Regions from separate parts of the Homo sapiens genome. Here all the other regions are linked to region 1. The links are contacts of gene promoters, found by promoter capture Hi-C in blood cells and fetal thymus (Javierre and others, 2016). All regions are on one chromosome and are shown on one strand. The core of a region is centred on a gene start or on the middle of the fragment in contact, and the rest is flanking DNA. Distances in the headings are between cores, read along the strand shown. Region 1 holds the start of UQCRB (ubiquinol-cytochrome c reductase binding protein). Region 2 holds the start of RPL30 (ribosomal protein L30). Region 3 holds the start of RAD54B (RAD54 homolog B). Region 4 holds the start of VIRMA (vir like m6A methyltransferase associated). Region 5 holds the start of DPY19L4 (dpy-19 like 4). Region 6 overlaps MTDH (metadherin). Region 7 overlaps MTDH (metadherin).

The links. Contacts are between HindIII fragments. The CHiCAGO score rates a contact against its expected background, and 5 or more counts as called.
Region 2: a contact is called between the fragment with the promoter of RPL30 here and the fragment with the promoter of UQCRB in region 1, in 2 of 17 cell types (naive B cells and total B cells). The highest score is 7.8, in naive B cells.
Region 3: the fragment with the promoter of RAD54B here is called in contact with the fragment with the promoter of UQCRB in region 1 in 7 of 17 cell types (naive B cells, fetal thymus, total B cells and 4 more); the score reaches 11.2 in naive B cells.
Region 4: the fragment with the promoter of VIRMA here is called in contact with the fragment with the promoter of UQCRB in region 1 in 7 of 17 cell types (fetal thymus, naive B cells, total CD8 T cells and 4 more); the score reaches 12.9 in fetal thymus.
Region 5: the fragment with the promoter of DPY19L4 here is called in contact with the fragment with the promoter of UQCRB in region 1 in 2 of 17 cell types (total B cells and fetal thymus); the score reaches 6.1 in total B cells.
Region 6: a contact is called between a fragment that was not itself captured here and the fragment with the promoter of UQCRB in region 1, in 1 of 17 cell types (M0 macrophages). The highest score is 6.2, in M0 macrophages.
Region 7: a fragment that was not itself captured here is called in contact with the fragment with the promoter of UQCRB in region 1 in 1 of 17 cell types (total CD8 T cells); the score reaches 6.1 in total CD8 T cells.

The regions. Positions count from the first base shown.
Region 1 is chr8:96,234,166-96,237,051 of GRCh38, reverse strand. UQCRB (ubiquinol-cytochrome c reductase binding protein) reads left to right here and starts at 1,507. Exons shown (of 4, transcript NM_006294.5): 1 at 1,507-1,540. The coding sequence starts at 1,522. It overlaps UQCRB-AS1 (UQCRB antisense RNA 1), which reads right to left and starts at 1,759. Exons shown (of 2, transcript NR_183275.1): 1 at 1,491-1,759. RefSeq lists an enhancer at 1,501-1,780. The HindIII fragment of the contact is 3,599 bases long and covers 1,000-2,886 here.
Region 2 is chr8:98,044,095-98,046,980 of GRCh38, reverse strand. It overlaps RPL30 (ribosomal protein L30), which reads left to right and starts at 1,436. Exons shown (of 5, transcript NM_000989.4): 1 at 1,436-1,473; 2 at 1,582-1,634; 3 at 1,893-2,038. The coding sequence starts at 1,614. RefSeq lists enhancers at 1,055-1,104, 1,125-1,184, 352-1,288, 1,355-1,504. The HindIII fragment of the contact is 12,210 bases long and covers 927-2,886 here.
Region 3 is chr8:94,473,602-94,476,487 of GRCh38, reverse strand. It overlaps RAD54B (RAD54 homolog B), which reads left to right and starts at 1,373. Exons shown (of 15, transcript NM_012415.3): 1 at 1,373-1,487. RefSeq lists an enhancer at 1,411-1,640. The HindIII fragment of the contact is 4,488 bases long and covers 1-2,081 here.
Region 4 is chr8:94,551,971-94,554,856 of GRCh38, reverse strand. It overlaps VIRMA (vir like m6A methyltransferase associated), which reads left to right and starts at 1,388. Exons shown (of 24, transcript NM_015496.5): 1 at 1,388-1,472. The coding sequence starts at 1,410. VIRMA-DT (VIRMA divergent transcript) reads right to left here and starts at 1,144. Exons shown (of 2, transcript NR_183271.1): 1 at 950-1,144. RefSeq lists an enhancer at 1,075-1,694. The HindIII fragment of the contact is 4,366 bases long and covers 1-2,322 here.
Region 5 is chr8:94,718,516-94,721,401 of GRCh38, reverse strand. DPY19L4 (dpy-19 like 4) reads right to left here and starts at 1,502. Exons shown (of 19, transcript NM_181787.3): 1 at 1,388-1,502. The coding sequence starts at 1,403. RefSeq lists a silencer at 1,375-1,694 and an enhancer at 1,455-2,409. The HindIII fragment of the contact is 11,065 bases long and covers 1-2,056 here.
Region 6 is chr8:97,706,962-97,709,847 of GRCh38, reverse strand. The region is part of intron 8 of MTDH (metadherin); the gene reads right to left. Among named protein-coding and RNA genes, the nearest start is that of MTDH, 64 kb to the right of the region's middle. The HindIII fragment of the contact is 8,340 bases long and covers 1-2,886 here.
Region 7 is chr8:97,645,924-97,648,809 of GRCh38, reverse strand. All of the region lies in intron 1 of MTDH (metadherin), which reads right to left. Among named protein-coding and RNA genes, the nearest start is that of MTDH, 3.2 kb to the right of the region's middle. RefSeq lists an enhancer at 2,817-2,886. The HindIII fragment of the contact is 1,064 bases long and covers 846-1,909 here.

The DNA.
Region 1 (2,886 bases), core at 258-2,757:
GTAACCCAGCATTTTGGGAGGCTGACGTGGGTGGATCACTTGAGGTCAAGAGTTTGATACCAGCCTGGCCAACACGGTGAAACCCCGTCTCTACTAAAAATACAAAAATTAGCGGGCATGGTAGTGTGTACACCTGTAGTCCCAGCTACTCAGGAGGCTGAGGCACGAGTCATTTGAACCCAGGAGGCAGAGGTTGCAGTGAGCCGAGATTGTGCCATTCAGCCTGGGTGACAGAGGCTGAACAACAAAAAAAAGGGTGAAAAAAAACAAACAAAAAAAACCCAAAACCTTTTCTGACCTAACCTTCCACTAAAATAGCTAGATATAGATCTTCAGCTGGAGAAACCCAAGGCCTGAAAGGCTTGGTGTCTTTCCTGGATTAGTAGTGTAGCAGTATAGCATATGACCCTAGAATTAAGGAGCCCCAAATTTGCATCTGGATTTTCAGATTCTGGAAGAAGAACCTGGACTCTTCTAGTCATGTGCTCTTGGACAAGTTATTCAACCTTTCTGAGCCTCAGCTTTCTCCTCTCTACAATGAGATAATTACAGTACTTTTAGAATTAAAAGATAGTTTAGGGGAGTGAGAGATCACCTCCAACCCTCCCTCCCCTTTGCTCTTATGTGGGCTCTTTGGTTGAATCTAGGAACCAAATTGACACATGGCAGATTAACAAGAGAAAAGCATACTAATTTTACTAGTTTTACATGTACATGGGGATCCGCACAAAAGAGTGAAGTGGCCAATGTAAGATGCCTTTATACTTTTTACACGAACTACAAATCAGAAGAAAGGGGATCTGGCTAGGGGCAGTAAATTTCTCGCGGAGTCATTAGGAGAAAAGTGTGTGTGTTGGGGTGTAAACTTAGTGGAAGATAACGGTTACTTCGGAAAGTATATTCAGGTCCAAAGCAGCCCCCAGTTTCGTCTCTGGTGATAGGTGCTATTTTCTCCCTCTGGTAAGGGACGGGTACTCCAGAGGAATCCTGGAGGAAGCTTTATGGCTTGCTGCATGCAGGAAGAGATAGGTCATCAAACCTTTTCTGAAACTACAATTTCTCCAATATTTTCAACTCGAAATAATCAATGTACCAATTCCATATATTTTTGGGATGGCACATCCATCAGTCCTTCAATAGAAAGTAAGACGATGCCCTTAAAACATTTAGCTTCCTGCCTGGCACAAAGAGCTGAATTAATACTGTCCACGCTCCCATAGCTATTAACAGCAAATAACAGAACCCAGCTTTAAGCCTTGGTCTCCTAATTCCTGACCTGTGTTCTTCCCATCACATCACAACCAATACTTCTTAGAATGTAGCACGCAAAATGCCCCGCCTACTCCATTGGCCTCACCCTGGCCGAGAGGTGCTTACGCAGGTGCTGAACGGCAGTCGTCAGAACTGCGCCTGCGCAAGCGGCCTTTCTCTGTTCGCGATGTGACGTAACGCGCCTGCGGACTGGGCCCAGCTTGTCCTCTATGACTTACCCAGAAGGCAACGCTTCTCTTTCTGGTCAAAATGGCTGGTAAGCAGGCCGGTAAGTAACTGGGGGTCTTCTTGGCCGGCATCGTCGCGCTTCACCGTTTATTTTTGCTGCAGCTTGCTCCGTTTTCTCTCTTCTTTGTAAGTGGCCAAGTTTGTCGCGGAAGGGAAATTGGCTGCTTCAGTCCAGTGAAAAGGATGTGCTTCCCCACTCGTTTGCTGTCCCCAGGGCGGGCTTGCCTGTATAGGGTTGGGATGTTAACCCGCTGTTTGTGAAGGTGCCCGCGGTGGCTCTGACAGCCCTGGAGTTCCAGCTGCCCGTGCTTGGAAGTCCTTCCCCTTGGCCTTAGAAAAGTTAAAGGGCACAAGAGGATAACTAGTGGATGACTTTCAACCCGAATGAGCTCAGTGCTTTCTATGACCCAAGTGCTCTATCGTGTGCATTGGCCCTATAAATTTTCTTGCCATTGCGACGAGGGAGATATTAATTTCCCTTTTACGCTGATAAGATAACTGAGGCAAAGTGACCCAAGGAAGTAGAATTGGAAATATCATTGCACCCCTCGCGCTTCTCAAACTGCGAATCAGAGACAGTTGAGCAAGGGATACGAGCGACGCTTCAGGTTGACCTTGGATTATCTAGAGCGTCAGCTTGATCAGTAGGTTTGGAGAAATTTGAATTTATTGTAGGTTCTTTTTTTCTTTTTTCTTTCTTTTTTTTTTTTTTTGCTAATCTCTGCCCTCTGGCGGTACAAGTTGGAGTAGCCGTTTTGTTTGTTTGTTTGTTTTGTCTTTGAGACGGAGTCTTGCTTTGTCGCCCAGGCTGGAGTGCAATGGCACAATCTCGTCTCACTGCAATGCAACCAAGTTGGAGTAGCTTAAAAAATGTTGATCCTTTTCTCCCCGCCCCCAGCAATTGTGAAGCTGTTAGGAAACATCAGGTTGCCAGAAACATCCGTTAACCTAATTGACATTGAGCTTTTTGGGGGTGGGGGAGACTTTTTAAATAATTATTTTATTAATTTGGCAGATATTGAAGGAGTCTTACTAAATTCAAGACACTGCTTCTGTGCGTGTTTGGGAACTACATAGACCAGATCTCAACTCCCATTAGCTAACTCTGACCTTGGGTGGGATCACTTCTGTAAGCCAGCTTCCCCTTCTGTAGTAACAGACATGTAAATAAATCAGCTAATGTTGGTAAAGCAAATAGGAAAGTGTTTGGTGCACAATAAGTGCTTAGTGAATATTATTATAGTCACTGATAGGTGGTTGAATATAATCTGTCTTCCACAAGTATGTTTGTAGATTGTTGACTGATACTTGTTTTTCTAGCAGCAGTTTTATACATGACTCTTAATTTCCAAGGAGATTTGCTAAAGCCACGTAATCTGTAGTGCA
Region 2 (2,886 bases), core at 187-2,686, 1.8 Mb before region 1:
TCCTGCTTCAGCCTCCCAAGTAGTTGGGATTGCAGGCAGGAGCCACCACACCTGGCTACTTTTTGTATTTTTAGTAGAGGTGGGGTTTCACCATGTTGACCAGACTGGTCTCGAACTCCTGACTTCAGGTGATCCGCTCACCTCGGACTTCCAAAATGTTTGGATTACAGGCGTGAGTCACCGCATTCGGCCTGAATCAACTTTAATTGTGAAGAGACCTAAGTTACCTGGGCTCTGGTCCTAGCTCTGACAATAGGCCTAGATATGTAAAATGGACAATAAAAAGGTTACTATCTCATGGGACTTTTGTGAGTATTAAATAAATATATGTAAATGATTCCTGGTACAGCACGCGTTTTTTGGTGAGGCTTAATTAAGGAGGGGAAGAGGTTTCCCTCATATAGCTTATCCACTGGTCTGATTGATTAGGTGGGGATTTTCAGCGCCTAATATCTTCAGTGGTCTGTCTCTGGACATTTATACCAAGATCCAACGTTAACAGCAAAAATACTTTTAAAAAATTAGACCTGTTTATCGCGCTCTCAGTGCAAACTCGGCTCACAAGTTCACGCTAACACAGTCACAAAAGGCGAGTTTTGGGAAACTCGAGCAGGGCGCCACCGTTCTCCAGGGGACAGGTAACTTGGGTGACCGCAGGGGTGAGGACACAGCTGCTTCTACCAAGCGGAGAGTAAATGCGGGTGCTGCGGCGCATCGGAGTCACCCACAAGGCTCTCCAAGAGCCGCGCCTCAGGACAAAGATGAATTCAGCGGCATTGAGACCGTGGTCGCAGCCGCCGCAGCCTCTTCTCATCTACCCTCCCACCTCACCTTCAGTCGGCTTTTCGAACTCCCTCCGGGTTCTAAGCGCCTCGATTAGTTAGACCGCAGCTCGCAGCAGAACAGCAACACAACGCCGCGAAGCTTAAAGGCCCGCAGAGGGGGAAAAGAACACCCCCGCCGTCATTCTTTTTTTTCCTTCTTTGAGACAGAGTCTCACTCTGTCGCCCAGGCTGAGTGCAGTGGCGCGATCATGGCTCACTGCAGCCTCGACCTACCGAGCTCAAGCGACCTCTCCGCCTCAGCCTCCGGCGTAGCTGGGAGTAGCTAGGACTACTGGAGCGCGCCACCACGCCCGGCTAATTTCTTTTTTATTTCTTTTTTATTTTTTTGTAGAGACAGGGGTGGTCTATGTTGTCCAGGCTGGCCTTGAGCTGGACGCAACAGATCTTCCCGCCTCAACCTCCGAAAGTGCTGGGATTAAAGGTATGAGCAGCCGCGTACGGCCCCCGCAGCCATTCTAGCTAGCGGTACCAATAGCAACCGGCAGCTGCCCTCCGCTTTTGCTCCGCCCCTTCTGCTTGCGATCTGTTTCCGCTTCCGGTCCCGCAGTTCCGGCTCTGCCGTGAAGAGCTTTGCATTGTGGGAAGTCTTTCCTTTCTCGTTCCCCGGCCATCTTAGCGGCTGCTGTTGGTGAGTGGGCTCCTACCGACCGAGGTTTAGGCAGCGCGGGGAGCTTTGCGGGTTGCCATTTGTAACTCCGGATCCTAAAATTCCTGTCCTGTTCTCTGTCTCTTCTAGGTTGGGGGCCGTCCCGCTCCTAAGGCAGGAAGATGGTGGCCGCAAAGAAGACGGTGAGTGAGGCGGGCCAGGCCCGGAAGACGATTCACGTGGAGAGATGTCTTGGCCAGGGCGGGCAGATGTGAGCCCACGGGGGTGACAGCATGCCTGCTGGCATTTGGAGGGCCCCAGAAGGAATCCCAGTGGCCCTCTCAATGACTTGGGGTCCTCGACTTCGGAAGTTTAAGGGGCTCGGCTTCAAAAAGCTGGGTCCGGTTTTGAGGCGGTTGCAGGCGAGGCCCTTAGGTCCGTATTTAATGTTTGCTTTGTAGAAAAAGTCGCTGGAGTCGATCAACTCTAGGCTCCAACTCGTTATGAAAAGTGGGAAGTACGTCCTGGGGTACAAGCAGACTCTGAAGATGATCAGACAAGGCAAAGCGAAATTGGTCATTCTCGCTAACAACTGCCCAGCTTTGAGGTAATCGAAGAGACTGAACGGGCTTCGCCTACCGCGAATTCATCGTGAACGAATATACAGGAGTGTAAACTTGTAATCTGAGTACCATGAACTCGAACACTTGCAGGATAATTACGGTAGCGATTGTGGTGTTTGGCCCTTCATTCCCGTCTCCCCGACCCACCCCCAAATCGTGTGCTCCCCTTCTGTGAGCTTATTTTTGGAGGAGAAATGTGTGTGTGTGGCAGGAGTGAAAACAGAACATCGAGGTTTAATGGAAACACAGACACATTACTGTTTTTTCCATGTATTTTGTGTCCTGCTTTTTTGGTTCTTTTAGCTTTGAGGTGCTTTAATGATGCTTCATTGTGTGAACTTGTTTTAGTGTCAAAAAACTAGGTAAGAAAAGTTGAGGCTGGGCTATGGAGTTGCAGGCTATCATAGAATCACCTAGTTTAGCCCGCTAAATCAGTTCTGAGTCAAGATTTATGCTTGACTCACTGTTTTGAAATTGAACTTAGGGGGTGTTGTAAATAAGCCAAACAAACTTGGACCTTGCAGAGTATAAGCTATGTGAGCAAATTTTCTGTGGTGATGCATAAGCTGCTTACAGCATTTTATATAGGGTGTCTGTAGTTACCGTCAAAGCCTGGAGGGCCCTTTCTGTCTTGTCCCATGGGTTCGGCTTTTCCCTAACCATTCTTTGAAACTTTCTTTAAAGCCTGTCTTCTATAGTAGTGCTTCTGAAACATGACTGTGCAAAGGAGTCACATGGGTGATGTTAAAATGCAAGTTCTGATTTCATTGGATCTGGGATGGGGCCCGAGGTGCCATTTATTATTTTATTTTTTTTAAGACAGAGTTTTGCT
Region 3 (2,886 bases), core at 124-2,623, 1.8 Mb after region 1:
GAGTAATGATCTGAAGTGAAGGATCAAACCAGATGCAAATCTGCAAGAGGAATGTCCCAGGTCACCTTTAGCCAATCTGTTTTAGATTTTCTGAACTCCCCAGATGATATTAAGGTAGGCTGCAGACACTATGAAGCTAGCTTGTTTTCTGGTTACCCTTACTCTTTATGTGTCCCAGTCCAAAGAAGAGGGGGGTGCGGTTTACTAAGGTGCCCAACCTTGGCAGGTCCCCATTTCAAATTCTTGTAACGCTGGCTCCAGGAGCTGCCAAAAGCACAACTCAACCTATGAGGTGCTCTTTATGACTGGAAAAAGTCCCCAGGATAAAAGCTCCTTAAGCACATTACTCTTTTTTTTTGAAACAGGGTCTCTCTGCTGCCCAGGCTGGAGTGCTGCGGCACCATCTCGGTTCATTGCAGCCTTCACCTCCCAGGTTCAAGCGATTCTCCCGCCTTAGTCTGCTGAGTAGCTGGGATTACAGGCGCGCTCCACCAAAACCAGCTAATTTTTGTATTTTTAGTACAGACCGGGTTTCACCATGTTGGCCAGGCTGGTCTCGAACTCCTGACCTCAAGTGATCCGCCCGCCTCGGCCTCCCAAAGTACTGGGATTACAGGCACAAGCCACCGCTCTCAGCCTCAAATTACTCTTTTAAATGGCTGTACCTATTTACACTCCTACCAGCAGCCCAAGAGTTCCCATTGTTTCACATCTTCATTTCACCCTTGATATTTTTTAGCTTTTACTTTTTGTCAAACTGCTGGATAAAACTCAATAAACAACCTTTAGCCATTCTCTCTCCTTTCAGATTAGCCTTTCTAATACCATTTTTCAGGGATAGTTGACTGTGTTACCGCCTAGCACTTAGAAGGTGCTCAGTAAATACTCATTGAATGATGTAACTTTCCTACTTAACATGCTTTAATGCTTTTCCAAGTCCGGAGGCGGCTCCCCTTTTCTGAGAGCCTAATAATCACGTATTCGTTTCTATATTCCCAGAACCTAACAAAGAGTTTGAAAATTATCCTGCAGGCACCGCTAAGTCAATGTTTTTTCGGATGAATGAATAACCAATAGGATATCGTATACTTCTGCGATGCACGCATTTCTATTATCGCACACACCGAATCATACCGTATTTATTACTTATCCACGCAGATGGTGAGGTCTGTAGCCTCGGCATCTACACTGTGTCTGAAAGTAGGCACTAAACCAGTATTTTTTTAATTGAACCGTAAACTTGAATCAAACTTGGAAGCATTTAAAGCCAAACGCAAAGATACATGCGCAGTGATGCAGTAGGGTCGTCCAATCAGAGTAGGGCAGGACAGGGCAGTGCAGCGGCTAGGTAGTGCGCACGCGCGGCGGGCTCGTCCGCGATTGGCTTCGCCGAGGCGGGATCCTTGAGCTTCTCCGGCGGCGAGGGGATAGCTGGTTACCAGAAGGACTTCTTTGCAGGGCCAGTGGTTTCTGTCAGATTTTCGCCGGTGCGTCCTGCAGGGGGAAGCTCGGGAGGCTGCGACAGCCTGTAGGCTCGTGCGGGACAAAGCAGGGAGTGGCGCCGGAGCAGGCCAACGAGGGAGGAGGGAGGGAAGGCGGCAGGAGCGACCGAAGTGGCCTTCTGCGGGCCTGCAGCTTTGGTCTGAAGTGCCAGGGACGCCCTGGTTGCTGGCCCCGGGGGCCTTGGAGCGAAGGGCGGGCGGTGGGGGTTTAGGGTTGTGCGTTTGTGTGGGAGGGATGGTTCTGGGCAGTGGCCCCTGGGGCCGCCACTGCGGTCGCTTTGCGCAGGCTCCTCTTGGCTTTTGGGTCTCTCCCTCACTCCTGCACTGGGAATTTCCTTCCCCAGGGCCAGGGGGTGAAGGCTCTGCGAGCGTCCTGGAGAGTGTCGGTACGCCTTCTTTAGGGGCTTTTACCTCTTCACTGGTCAGGTTTTTCTTGTATTTCCTTAAAACCTTTTAATCGATTACCTTATGGAAGATTTTCTAGGTAGGAACAGATGCTTCTCGACTTACTACGGGGTTGAAAATATCCCAAATGGAAAATGGATTTAAAACACAGCTAACCTACTGAGTATTAAAGCTTGGCCTAGCCTACTTTTGTTATCAAAAAAATTATTTTCAGCTGTTTATTTTAGATTTGGGGGTACATGTGCAGGTTTGTTGCATCGGTATATTACGTGGTGCTGAGGTTTGGATACGATTGATCCTGTCACCCAGGTAGTGAGCATGTTACCCAATAGTTTTTGAACCCTTGCTCCTCCTTTCCTCTCCCTTCTAGTTGTCTCCACTGTCTATTGTTGCCATCTTTATGTTCATGAATGCCCAATGTTTAGCTCCCATTTATAAGTGAGAACATGCAATATTTGATTTTCTGTTTCTGCTTTAATTCGCTTTGGATAATAGCCTCCAGCTGCACCCATGTTGCTGCAAAGGACATGATTTCATTCCTTTTTATGGCTGCGCTAGCCTACCTTAAACATGCTCAGAACACTTACCTTAATCTACAGTTGGGCAAAATCATGAACACAGACGGTTGTGTGGTTACTTGTACAGTTTCTACTGAATGCTCATGGCTTTCTTAAAAGTCGAAGAATTCTAAGTGACACCGTCCTAAATTAGGAACCATCTATATAGCCGGAGTCTCAAAGGAGCAATTTAAGGCATGAAGTGAAATAATTACTACCTAATGTAGTTGGAAGTCGACAAGCAGCAACAGCAGGGAGAGACCGTTGCTGGTTCTTGGTAGAGTTGGTGTACTTACATTCTTGCATCCTCGACGTTTGATGGTTGCACATACCTCTCTTTAAAGCCCAGACGAACCCAAAGATTCTGGTCATTGTCCTGTATGTTGAACTACCCCTTCTCTATCTCCTTCACAGGACCTTCA
Region 4 (2,886 bases), core at 139-2,638, 1.7 Mb after region 1:
TATCTTGAAATTTTAGTTACTCCAATACATGACTTTATAATTTCATGACATATGTACACTCCTAAAATTTTATATTCTTTTGCACGTTTTTAAATATATAGATGTTATTTTACACTATATATTTTTTATTTCCTTTTCTAAGAGATGGGTGTCCCCACTGGCCTCCAACTCCTGGGCTTAAGAGATTCTCCTGTCTCAGCTTCCCGAGAAGTTGGGACCACAGGAACACGCCACCGCACCCGGCTTGCGATGAGAGGAGTTAAACTTGTTTTGTTTTGGTTTGTGTCTTTTTTTTTTCTTTTTGTGAATAACGGGGTCTCGCTATATTGCCCAGGCAGTTCTCCAACTCCTGGGCTCAAGCGATCCTCCCGCTTCATCCTCCCTAAGTGCTGGATTACAGGCGTGAGCCAAAGCGCCCACCAACCCTGTTTTTTGGGTTTTTCATGCTAGTAAACATAGCACTGGTTCATTCTTCGTACCTGCTATATACTATTATATAAATACGCCACTATTTACTTATTACTTCTGTCAATGGCACTTATGTTTCCTGCTCTTTTGCAACTTATAAAGTTTGCTATGAATATTCTTGTATTTGTAGATACGTGGGCGAGAATTTTCCTAGAAGAGTGGTAGGCACGTGTAATTTTACAAGCTATTTCCTAGTTGCTCTGCTAAGGGTTTGTGCCATTTAGACTACCAAACCCGCTGAGTTTATCTCGTTGCTCCAAAGCTCATCAACACCCGACAGAGAGGCTTACTTTTCATTCTGCCTCCTGTTTTATTGTTCATGGTACTTCACGTTACACAATTCCTCGAATTTTATTTCAATTACTCCTCACAATCACCCTGTAGGTTAGGTACGATTTTTCACATTTTACAGATAAGAAAACAAAGAATCTCTTCGTTGGTTGAAACAACAGTTTTTCTTCTATTTAAATCAATGTCTTACTTTTCAACCTCGCTCACTGTTATCTTTTTGCTCCCAGCGCTGGAAAAAGTGGGACATCCCCTTCGGTGGGTGTACGGGGTTGGTATCCAAAGTTGGCAGCTTTCCCTCCCCCTCCTCCATCCACCGTCTCCAAAACCCCGTCTCCGCACTTCGCCACCCGGAGACCGCTGTAGCTCTGTAACGCGGAGGAACGACAGGGTTTGAACCACTGGAGACCCCGTAGTCCCCATCTCACTTCCCTCTGCCCCCCCTCTGCGTTCTAGGGGGCGCCCTCCGCCGCGCTGGAAAAGGCGGGGCCGGCAACTCCGGGCAACAAGATGCGTTGGGATAGGCCGAGGTTTGCGGCGCTAGTGCTCTGGTCACCGGAAGTCCCTCTGTTTCTCCCTCTCCTGAGTCGCTGTCGCGGAGGCTGGAGCGCTGCCCCGGAAGTCCTCCCCCCTGTTCCCCGCCCGCGGCAAACATGGCGGTGGACTCGGCGATGGAGCTGTTATTTTTAGATACTTTTAAACACCCGAGCGCTGAGGTAAGGCTTGGCGACTTGATTCTGACGCTGCTTCTTGACTTGGGATCTTTACAAAAAAACCGTTAGGCGTTCTCCACTTTTCCTTCTGCAGATTGCTTCTTTAATTTCTCGCTTACACACAGACACCCTCCCCCGAGCTGTGTGAGCATCGCGTCTGAGGGAGGGCTGCAGCAGCCCCTTCATTTCCTTGCTTTAACTTGGGCCCTCCGTGTCTTTGGTCGAGTTGGCTTTTCTGCTTGCATGGCTTTATTTTTTATTTTTCCTGTCAGGTTTGGGCCTTGAGAAGGATCAGGGTTCTCAGGTTTACCTCAGATGGCGTTTGGGAGGGGTCTTGGTTTGCCAGTAGTGTTTGACAGTAGTGCCGGAGTCTGAGCAGTTTACGTTGGCTTCGTGGTTTCCGAATCACGATGTTTCTAAATCCTTTCTCTTTGGCCTCTTTTCTGTCGGGAATTATGTTCCCCAGTTGTGACACTTACTTGGTTTAGGATTACGGTGCTCTCCGATTTGGCCTGAAACTTTAATACTTGTCTCTCGGAGAGATTTCACACATTAGGAATGAGATGCATTCACGGAGAATACTTGCGAAGAGGGGAGAGTTGAGAGAATTATAGTTAAACTCATCAGCAGACATCTCCTTTGAGGTTGGAGGTGGAATGTTGTGGAGTAATATTTCTGTACAAAACTACTTGAGCGCCCCTTAATGTACAATTGGCCCTGCAATATGTAGATTAAACATAGCTGGTTAACTAAAGATTCCTGAAAGCAGACCAAAAATGAACTTGAATGAAGTCTACGGAGAAATTGTTAAAAAAAAAAACGAACTTCACATTTTTCTGTCTTAATGTAAGCTTAATTTAGAGAACTGTTCTTTCTTTGGAGATTATTTTTTTCCTTTTATTTTTATCAAGTGTGCTCTTGTATCAAGCTTTTTGAGGACAGATATAATTTCTCTTTTTCTCAGCTGTATCTCCAGTGCCTAGGACAGTATTAGCAAAATGTAGGTGCTCAATAAATATTTGAATGGAAAATGTTTAAAATGTTCTTTCTTTTATGAGATAGTAATGATAGTGGGTAGTGATTGTATCATAATGCTTTACTTGGCAAAATAAAAAGTTGACAGCTGTGATCTAATTTAACGAATGGTTTATAGGTTTGTAAAAGTCAAAAGTTGGAGAACTTTGAGTTAGCATTTCTTACTGACAGTTAATTTATGGTCTGACATTTAATGTGGGTCAGTTAGCACTGTTTGTTCAATGACTATATCTAACATTCTAGCCGAGATTTAGAAAACCCTCAATGGAGGCAGTAGTTGGATCAGAACAAACTTATGGTGTATAGAAATAGAGAACAGTTAAAACTGAAAGAGCCTGGCGCAGTGGCTCATGCCTGTAATCTCAACGTTTTGGGAGGCGGA
Region 5 (2,886 bases), core at 253-2,752, 1.5 Mb after region 1:
AAAACTCAATGGAAACAAATATGAACCAAGCCTGCATAGGGACAGGTCAGCAAGTCACACATCAGTAAACACTTCTTATGCTTAATTTTTAAAAATTGCTTTCCGCTGAATCCTTTAAACTCCTTCCTTGCACTCTTGATTCAGAAAGGCTTGAGTCGGCTGGACCCGTGGCTCACGCCTGTAATCCCAGCACTCTGGGAGGCCGAGGTGGGCGGATCACCTGAGGTCAGAAGTTCAAGACCAGCCTGACCAACATGGAGAAACCCCGTCTCTACTCAAAATATAACATTAACCGGGCGTGATGGCGCATGCCTGTAATCCCAGCTACTAGGGAGGCTGAGGCAGGAGAATCGCTTGAATCCAGGAAGCGGAGGTTGCGGTGAACCGAGATCGCGCCTTTGCACTCTAGACTGGGCAACAAGAACGAAACTCCGTTTCAAAAAAAAAAAAGGCAGGGGGGCTTGAGTCTAAATTAGATCGATTTACTATCACATCCACAGCTCCACTCATAAGGTAAAAAGTTGTGTTTTCCACCAGAATGCAAAAATCTAATTGCTTCTCACTTCCTGAAACTAGTAGGGGTTATCATGAAGTTACTATGCCATGAGTATTCCTTGTATTGTTTATCACTAACCGATAAGTTTCATCTAACTTCCCATTTTTGTCTCATACTTATCATTTTCTATAAATAAAATACTGCTGAATGAATTACTTATCTTAGCATTGATCCTGAAGGCGGCATGGAAACCTTTCTCCAGCTCACCCACTTTGACCCTCAAAGGCCTCCTGGCCTCATCATCTCCCAAAACTATAATAATTAGATGGCTCTGCTCTTTACCATTTTCCCCTGAACCTAAGTGAACTTGGCTTTCTTCAGTTTCTGCGTGTTCGCCCATTCCCAATTAATCTTGCCACGTTTATCCCAAATCCCTGCCTCTTTATCCCCGTGGTGAATGTTCCCTCGCCCCCTGTGCCTCTGGGTTTGTCAATATCCACAGCCCTTTAAAAATCGCATTCCAAATATGCACTGAGTACCTAAACCTGATCTTCGAAACCAAACTGCGCCTCCCACTTCACCAAGAATCTGATCAGGACCCTCCCTCTTTCCCAACCACTCCCGGCACAGCTTTCTCTCTTGCTACGGATTCCCAACTTTCAGCTCCACCTTTGCTTCCCAATTCGGCCGACAAAACTTCGGGCCATTTGCTCCGCTCTCCTGAATTTCTCCGCAGTCCTCTCCTGGGCGCCGCGCTCCTTCCCGCCCTGCCCGCGCGGCCGCCACCGCGACCGCGGCCACCAGCAGCTCCAACCCAGACCTCCAGCGCCCCCGCCCCTCCTTCCCGAGACCACTGGCAGCCGTTGGCGCGCTGGACCCCGCGGCAATCACCTTCTTCCTCCGCCATCGTTTCTGCGAAGGCTAGGGCGCCCTGCGGCTCCCGCGCGGCCCAGACTCTCCCTCCCTCCGCGTCGCCGAACCCCTCGGCCTCCGGGGGCCCGCTCCTGGCCGCCGCGCCCCCACTTCCTGACCCACCCCCCTCCGGTGTCGCCGCCAACCGCGTCCCCGCAGGCGGCCCGGGAACCAGAGTGTTGGGAGAGGGGAGCGGCCGGAGCGTTTCGCTGGGGCGCCGGGGCCTGCGCGGGCAGGAAGGAGACTCCACGCCGGGAGTGCAGCCCACAGCTGTAGCTCCTGGCCGCCGCCTGCCCTGGAAAGCGAGACTGGTGGGTCTCGCTGCAGCCCCGCCCCTCGTCCTACTCTTCCCAAAAAGTGAGGGCATGCTTTCCGCCACTTTTGTGACTCCGCGACTTAGCGAGTCAGAGACGATCATCAGCGACACCTCCCAGGTCCAGCCTCCATTCCCGCCCCATTTTACATGGAGGAAACTCAGATCTAATGTGGTGGAAGTCACAAAGCCGGTCAGAGGCAGAAGTGGAACCCGGTGCTCCAGAACTGCCATCGCTGCCTGCGTTCTCGCTGGGATTTCAGAGTGCAGCAGCAAAACGTTCTCAGTTGGCGCTTTGGTTTCGTAGGCCACTTGACCATTACAAGAAAGAAGCTTGTGCTTGGAACTTGTTTTAAATCACCAAAACTGGTTTAGCAAATATGTTGCATTTCATGATATTCTGGGGGGGGGGGCGGGGAGATAATACAATGGTCTGGGGTAGAGCAGTGTGCAATTAGATATTACAGAGCAATAGGGAATAATTTTAATTTGTTAAACTGTGTTTAACTTTCATTATATCTAGCATTCTTCAACAAACACCGGGATCTTTTCCCCAACAGTACTCAGAAGTAAATTTAGTAAATGAAATATACCCATTTTAGATCGGGAGAAACAGGCACGAGAATTCACTGAAGTCATGGGGTAATTATGGACACCCCATTATTAGCAGGCAGCAAGATTCTCCTAATAGCACCTTTAAGTTAGGATATTTGGGGAGAGGCTATCATTTTTCAGTGATGTGCAGAAACGGTTCCAGGAACTTTTTTTTTTTTTTTTTGAGACAGAGTCTCGCTCTGTCGCCCAGGCTGGAATGCAATGACTCGATCTAGGTTCACTGCAACCTCCGCCTCCCAGGTTAAAGCGATTTTCGTGCCTCGGCCTTCCCAGTAGCTGGGACTACAGGCGCAAGCCACCACTTAATTTTCATATTTTTAGTAGAGATGGGATTTCACCATGTTGGTTGGCCAGGCTAGTCTCCAACTCCTGGCCTCAAGTGATCCGCCCACCTTGGCCCCCCGAAGTGCTGGGTTTACAGGTGCCCACCACCACGCCCGGATAATTTTTTGTACTTTTAGTAGAGAAGTGGAGGGGTGTGGTTTCACCATGTTGCCCAGGCTGGTCTTGAAATCCTGACCTCAAGTGATCCACCGGCCTCAGCCCCACA
Region 6 (2,886 bases), core at 192-2,691, 1.5 Mb before region 1:
TAAATCTTTAAATAAAAAGGACATTACTGATAAATTTCAAATTCCTTTATACCGCTTCCCAATCCCATTTTCACAGTACCTTCCTAATGGTAACCAAAATTGTGAACAACTTCTGTGTCTATCCAATCAATTTTTCTATAAATTTATTTGTATCCACATATAAAAAGTTACATAAATGACATATTCTATCTTTTTATAACTTGCTCATCATTCAGCATGTTGAGTTTCCATTCATAATGCTAACAATGTAGCTTTAGTTCATTTTTAACTTCTAATATGCCATTGTATAAACATATCACATCTTTCCATTCCCCAACTGATGAACATTTTGATGACAGCTCACTTTTGCTTAGAAATGTAAAAGGTAATCTCTGAATATATTCAGAAAAAGAATTCCTATGATGTAGGATAAAGTCTTTATTCCATTCATGGGTTCTATTGTGTTAAATGTCCAACAAACATGTGAATGATCACTATGTATTAAGGTATTATATATTACGATATTGTACTTCTAAGAAGCCTTTTTGTAGGTCCAATCTAAAACCCCTTTCCCCACTGTTGACTTTCACATTGCCTGTTAACTGTCCTCCTCTACATTTATTTACCCCTCCTTCTACCATTAGTATTATATCTGGTGGTTTTTTTTTTTTTTTTGAGATGGAGTCTCGCTATGTTGTCCAGGCTGGAGTGCAGTGGCACAACCTTGGCTCACTGTAACCTCTGCCTCCCGGGTTCAAGCAATTCTTTGCCTCAGTCAGCCTCATGAGTAGATGGGATTACAGGTGCCCGCCACCATGCCCAGCTAATGTTTGTATTTTCAGCAGAGACGGGGTTTCACCATCTTGGCCCGGCTGGTCTTGAACTCCTGACCTTGTGATCTACCCACCTTGGCCTCGCAAAGTGGGAGCCACTGTGCCCGGCCTATATCCTGTTTTAAAGACCAATCCTGGCTGGGGGCAGTGGCTCACGCCTGTAATCCCAGCACTCTGGGGGGCCAAGGTGGGCAGATCACTTGAGGTCAGGAGTTTGAGACCAGCCTGGCTAACATGGCAAAAACTCGTCTGTACTAAAAACACAAAAATTAGCTGGGCATGGTGATGCATGCCTGTAATCCCAGCTACTCAGGAGGCTGAGGAGGGAGAATCACTTGAACCTGGGAGGTGGAGGTTGCAGAGAGCCGAGATCATGCCACTGCACTCCAGCCTGGGAGACGGGGAAACTCCATCTCAAAAAAAAAAAAAAAAAAAAAAAAAAAAAAAAAAAAAAGGCCTGGCATGGTGGCTCATGCCTGTAATCCCAGCACTTTGGGAGGCCGAGGTGGGTGGATCACTTGAGCTCAGGAGTTTGAGACCAGCCTGGCTAACATGGCAAAAACCCGTCTCTACTAAAAATACAAAAATTAGCTGGGCATGGTGATGCGTGCCTGTAATCCCAGCTACTCAGGAGGCTGAGGAGGGAGAATCACTTGAACCTGGGAGGGGGAGGTTGCAGAGAGCTGAGATCGTGCCACTGCACTCCAGTCTGGGAGACAGGGCGAAACTCCATCTCAAAAAAAAAAAAAAAAAAAAAAAAAAAAAAAAAAAGGCCTGGCATGGTGGCTCATGCCTGTAATCCCAGCACTTTGGGAGGCTGAGGCAGGTGGATCACTTGAGGTCAGGAGTTCGAAACCAGCCTGACCAACATGGTGAAACCAACATGGTAAAAGTACAAAAATTAGCCGGGCATGGTGGCAGGTGCCTGTAATCCCAGCTACTGGGAGGCTGAGGCACGAGAATTGCTTGAACTCAGGAGGCAGAGATTGCAGTGAGCTGAGATTGCATCACTGAACTCCAGCCTGAGTGACAGAGCAAAACTCCATCTCAAAAAGAAAAAGAAAAAAAAAAAAGACCAATCCATCCACTTGTTAAAGGCTTCTTGATCCTCTTCTGGCACCTTACTTTATCAGTCAAATCTTCCCTCTCATTTAACTTTTTCTTTTTTTTTTTCTTTTTTAAGAGATGGGGTCTTGCTATGTTCAAACAATCCTCCTGCCTCAGCCCCCTGAATAGCTGGGACTACCAGGTGTATGCCACTGTGCCCAGCCTATGTTTAACTTTTTAGTTTATTCCGGATCCTTTCCCTTTGTATTGACAGACATGCTAAAACAGGGGTTGGCAAATTACAAATACAGCCCAGCATTAGTTCCTACAAATAAAATTCATTTCCATATCATCTATGGCTACTTGCTATATAATTGACTAGCTGTATCAGAATGTATGGCTTTTTAATAAAGACTGTGCAGGCCAGACACAGTGGCTTACACATGTAATCCCAGCACTTTGAGAGGCTGAGGCAGGAGGGTCACTTGAGGCCAGGAGTTTGAGGACACCATCTCAAAAAAAAAAAAAAAAAAAAAAAAGGCCAGGCATGGTGGCTTACGCCTGTAATCCCAGCACTTTGGGGGGCTGAGGTGAGCGGATCACCTGAGGTCTGGAGTTGGAGACCAGCTTTGCCAACATGGTGAAATCCCATCTCTACTAAATACACAAAAATTAGCCGGGCATAGTGTCGGGCTAGTAATCCCAGCTACTCAGGAGTCTGAGGTAGGAAAACTGCTTGAACACAGGAGGTAGAGGTTGCAGTGAGCTGAGATCATGCCACTGCACTCCAGCCTGGGCAGCACAACAAGAATCTGTCTCCGAAAAAAAAAAAAAAAGAAAAAAAGACTGCTGACCCTATACCAAAATCTCCCTATCATTAAAATACAACACCCCAACCCTAGCAAAACCATTCCTGATACCACGTGTTGCTATTATCCACTATCTCTCCTCCAGTCCTATCAAAACTTGGGTTTGCTGTTTCTGATGCTATTATTGTCTCCCTGAGGCTCTCAATTGGTGTCAGCCT
Region 7 (2,886 bases), core at 128-2,627, 1.4 Mb before region 1:
AGCACTGTGCAAGGCTATCTGGTAGCAAACAAAAGGAAACACTATTATTTTATTCATTGAGCTTAGAGATATGGCAATTACACTATAGCAAATCTTTATAAACATTCCTACACTAATATGCAAATAACTTGTCCACTAAAATAAATTTTTGAGCTGGGTGAGGTTGCTCATGCCTGTAATCCCAACATTTTGGGAGGCCAAAGTGGGAGGATGGCTTGAGGCCAGGAGTTTGAGGATGCAGTGAGCTATGAGCTATAACCGCCACTGCACTCCAGCATGGGCAATAGAGCAAGACTGTTTCAAAAAAAAAAAAAAGACAATTTTCTTTGATATTAATCCTGATTATGTGCTTCCAGTTGAAATTCAAAGCCAATTGTTACAGACCAGTTTTCGCAGACTTCACTTCAATCTAAGTCATTACTCAGATTAAAAATCAAGTGAAAAAATACTTGAGTGCCCATTTAATACAGACTTTGAGGTAGATGTCATGAAAAATACATACAAGATAATAATTTCCAAAAATGCCAGGAACAGGGGTGGGGGGGAAAAGAAAAAATGCCAAGAACTGAGCCCAGTAAAAAGTGGCCCCCCTCACTTTTAATTAGGGAACAAACTGTAATTCATACCCTAAAAGATCTATGGCATGGTTTTATTAGGGGATAAAAAACAAATTGATAAAATAATTTCAGAAATTGCTTATAAACAGGTTGAGGTAAATACAGATTTCGCCACTATTTACTCTACAAATGAAAAATTTGAAAACAGGAGTCGCAAAATTTGGAGTGATTTAAGAGAAAGCTAAAAATAATGGAACGAAAAGATCAGAGATCAGGAATCTACAAGCTTTTTTTTTTTTTTTCTTTTAGGAGACAGAGTCTTGCTGTGTTGCCCAGGCTGGAGTGCAGTCACCTGATCATAGCTCATCACAGCGTCAAACTCCTAGGCTCAAGTGATCCTCCCAACAGTGCCTCCCAAAGTGCTGGGATTACAGGCATAAGCCACTGTGCCTGGCCCAAGCATTTCCACAAGCATTCAAAGTGACTCATTGCAAGTAGCCAGGGATAACACTTTGAAGAATACTGCAGTGTTTTAACTCAACTAAGATTTCCAATTTGTAAACAAGATACACTGAACAGAGCAAGGTGAAATGCCTTACTCAAGTTTAGAGTTTCCCATTCCTGCCAGGCTGACAGAGTTGTCTTCTTTCAATCCTGGGCCTTTGTTGTTTCTCAGGCCTCTCACATTATCTTGCTCTTACTGCCCTCCCTTCCCCCCTTTTTTTAGACAGGGCCTCGAATTGGCTCACTGCAGCCTCCACCTCCTGGCTCAAGCAATCCTCCAACCTCAGCCTCCAGAATAGCTGGGACTACAGGTGCACACCACCACACTGGGCTAATTTTTTAAATTTTTTGTAGAGATGAGGTCTCACTATATTGCCCAGGTCGTTCTTGAATTCCTGGGGGACTCCTACCCACTTTCAAAGTCAGCTTCTGTGACAAGGCCTTTCACGCCCACCTGGGTCCACATCCAGTTGTATCATTAATTTCTTAAGTATATCTTTTTCCACGACTGAAACAAAAAGCTCCCTGGGGAGAAACTGAGCTTTAACCTTTGTATCCCTGTCACAGAGAGATATGCCCATATTGTATGCCTTTTCACCGCCTTCAATTTGTAAGCAGTATCTTGCTTTTCTTCAATACTTAGCACAGTTAAAGGTATCTAATGAGTACCAAACGGCAGCTTGTACTTCTTTGCCCTGTAAAGCTACCCCATAACTGTGGGTCATGCCTCACAGTCAAATGTGAAATGAATTTAGTGGGTCATGAACATTAAAGAAAAACAGAACAGTTTTATGTGTGTAATGTAATGTAAAATGTATTTCTTATTGTGGGTTGCAGTCAGAAAAGCTTGAAAGTCACAATTTTGTAAATGTTGGTTAAACTTCTCGAATACATCTTCAATATTTGGTAGATAAGGATACTTCCTCACCCAATTAACATTCAGCCATACAGTCTTCCCATTCTCCACTCCTCAAAGCTAACGCTAGGTTTACTTATTTACTCCCCACTTCCTTAACTCGAATGAAAATGAGGGGGTAAGTCTTTTAAGTCTACTGAGCATTTTTCACAGTAATGTATAAGCATTCGCCGGAATCTGTATTCTTTCAGATGAGTCATTTGAGTGTTATAACGCATGTCGGATGGGTTCTTGGAGAACCTGTCTCTCTCAACTCAAGTTTATCTGAAATTTCTAGATGTCCCAAATAGGGCTTTGAAATTTTCACAATGTGCTTCATCCACATGGGTTTGTGCTGAATGTGTTTCTTTCAAGATCACCTTCTTTCCTTACCTTGGAGCAAGGTTCTCTATTTTCACCATAACATTACTTTGATAATTGGTAATTCTTGATAGTCTCCACAAATTTTTAAATTATTTATGTTCCAAATCAGTTCTATTTTCTCCTCTCCTAACTTATGGTAGTATTCACATTGACAAAGTTGTGCCTTTTCCAGGTTTCATATGTATCTTGCATCTCTTAATCAGCAGGCAAAACGTGAAGGCCTATCCAGGCCTCATAATGCACTAACTGTGACCTGTCACATCTCTAATCTAGAGATTAGAGTTTGTTACCAACAAAACTCTTGTTAGTTGGAACTCAAACCCCATTTCCTCCAACAACTTTCCTAAAGCCCTCCAGTGAAATGTCTCCTACCCTCCAAACCTCATTAACACTCAGTTAAAACCTCTTTAACACCTATCAGTCTATGCAAAATTCTAATTATTTATGAATCTGTCTCCACTACTCTCCAACACTGACTCTACGTGTATACCTTGCACTGCCCTCCAAACACCAGAGTGCAAATTTCACATGGTAGGGCCTTCGTAC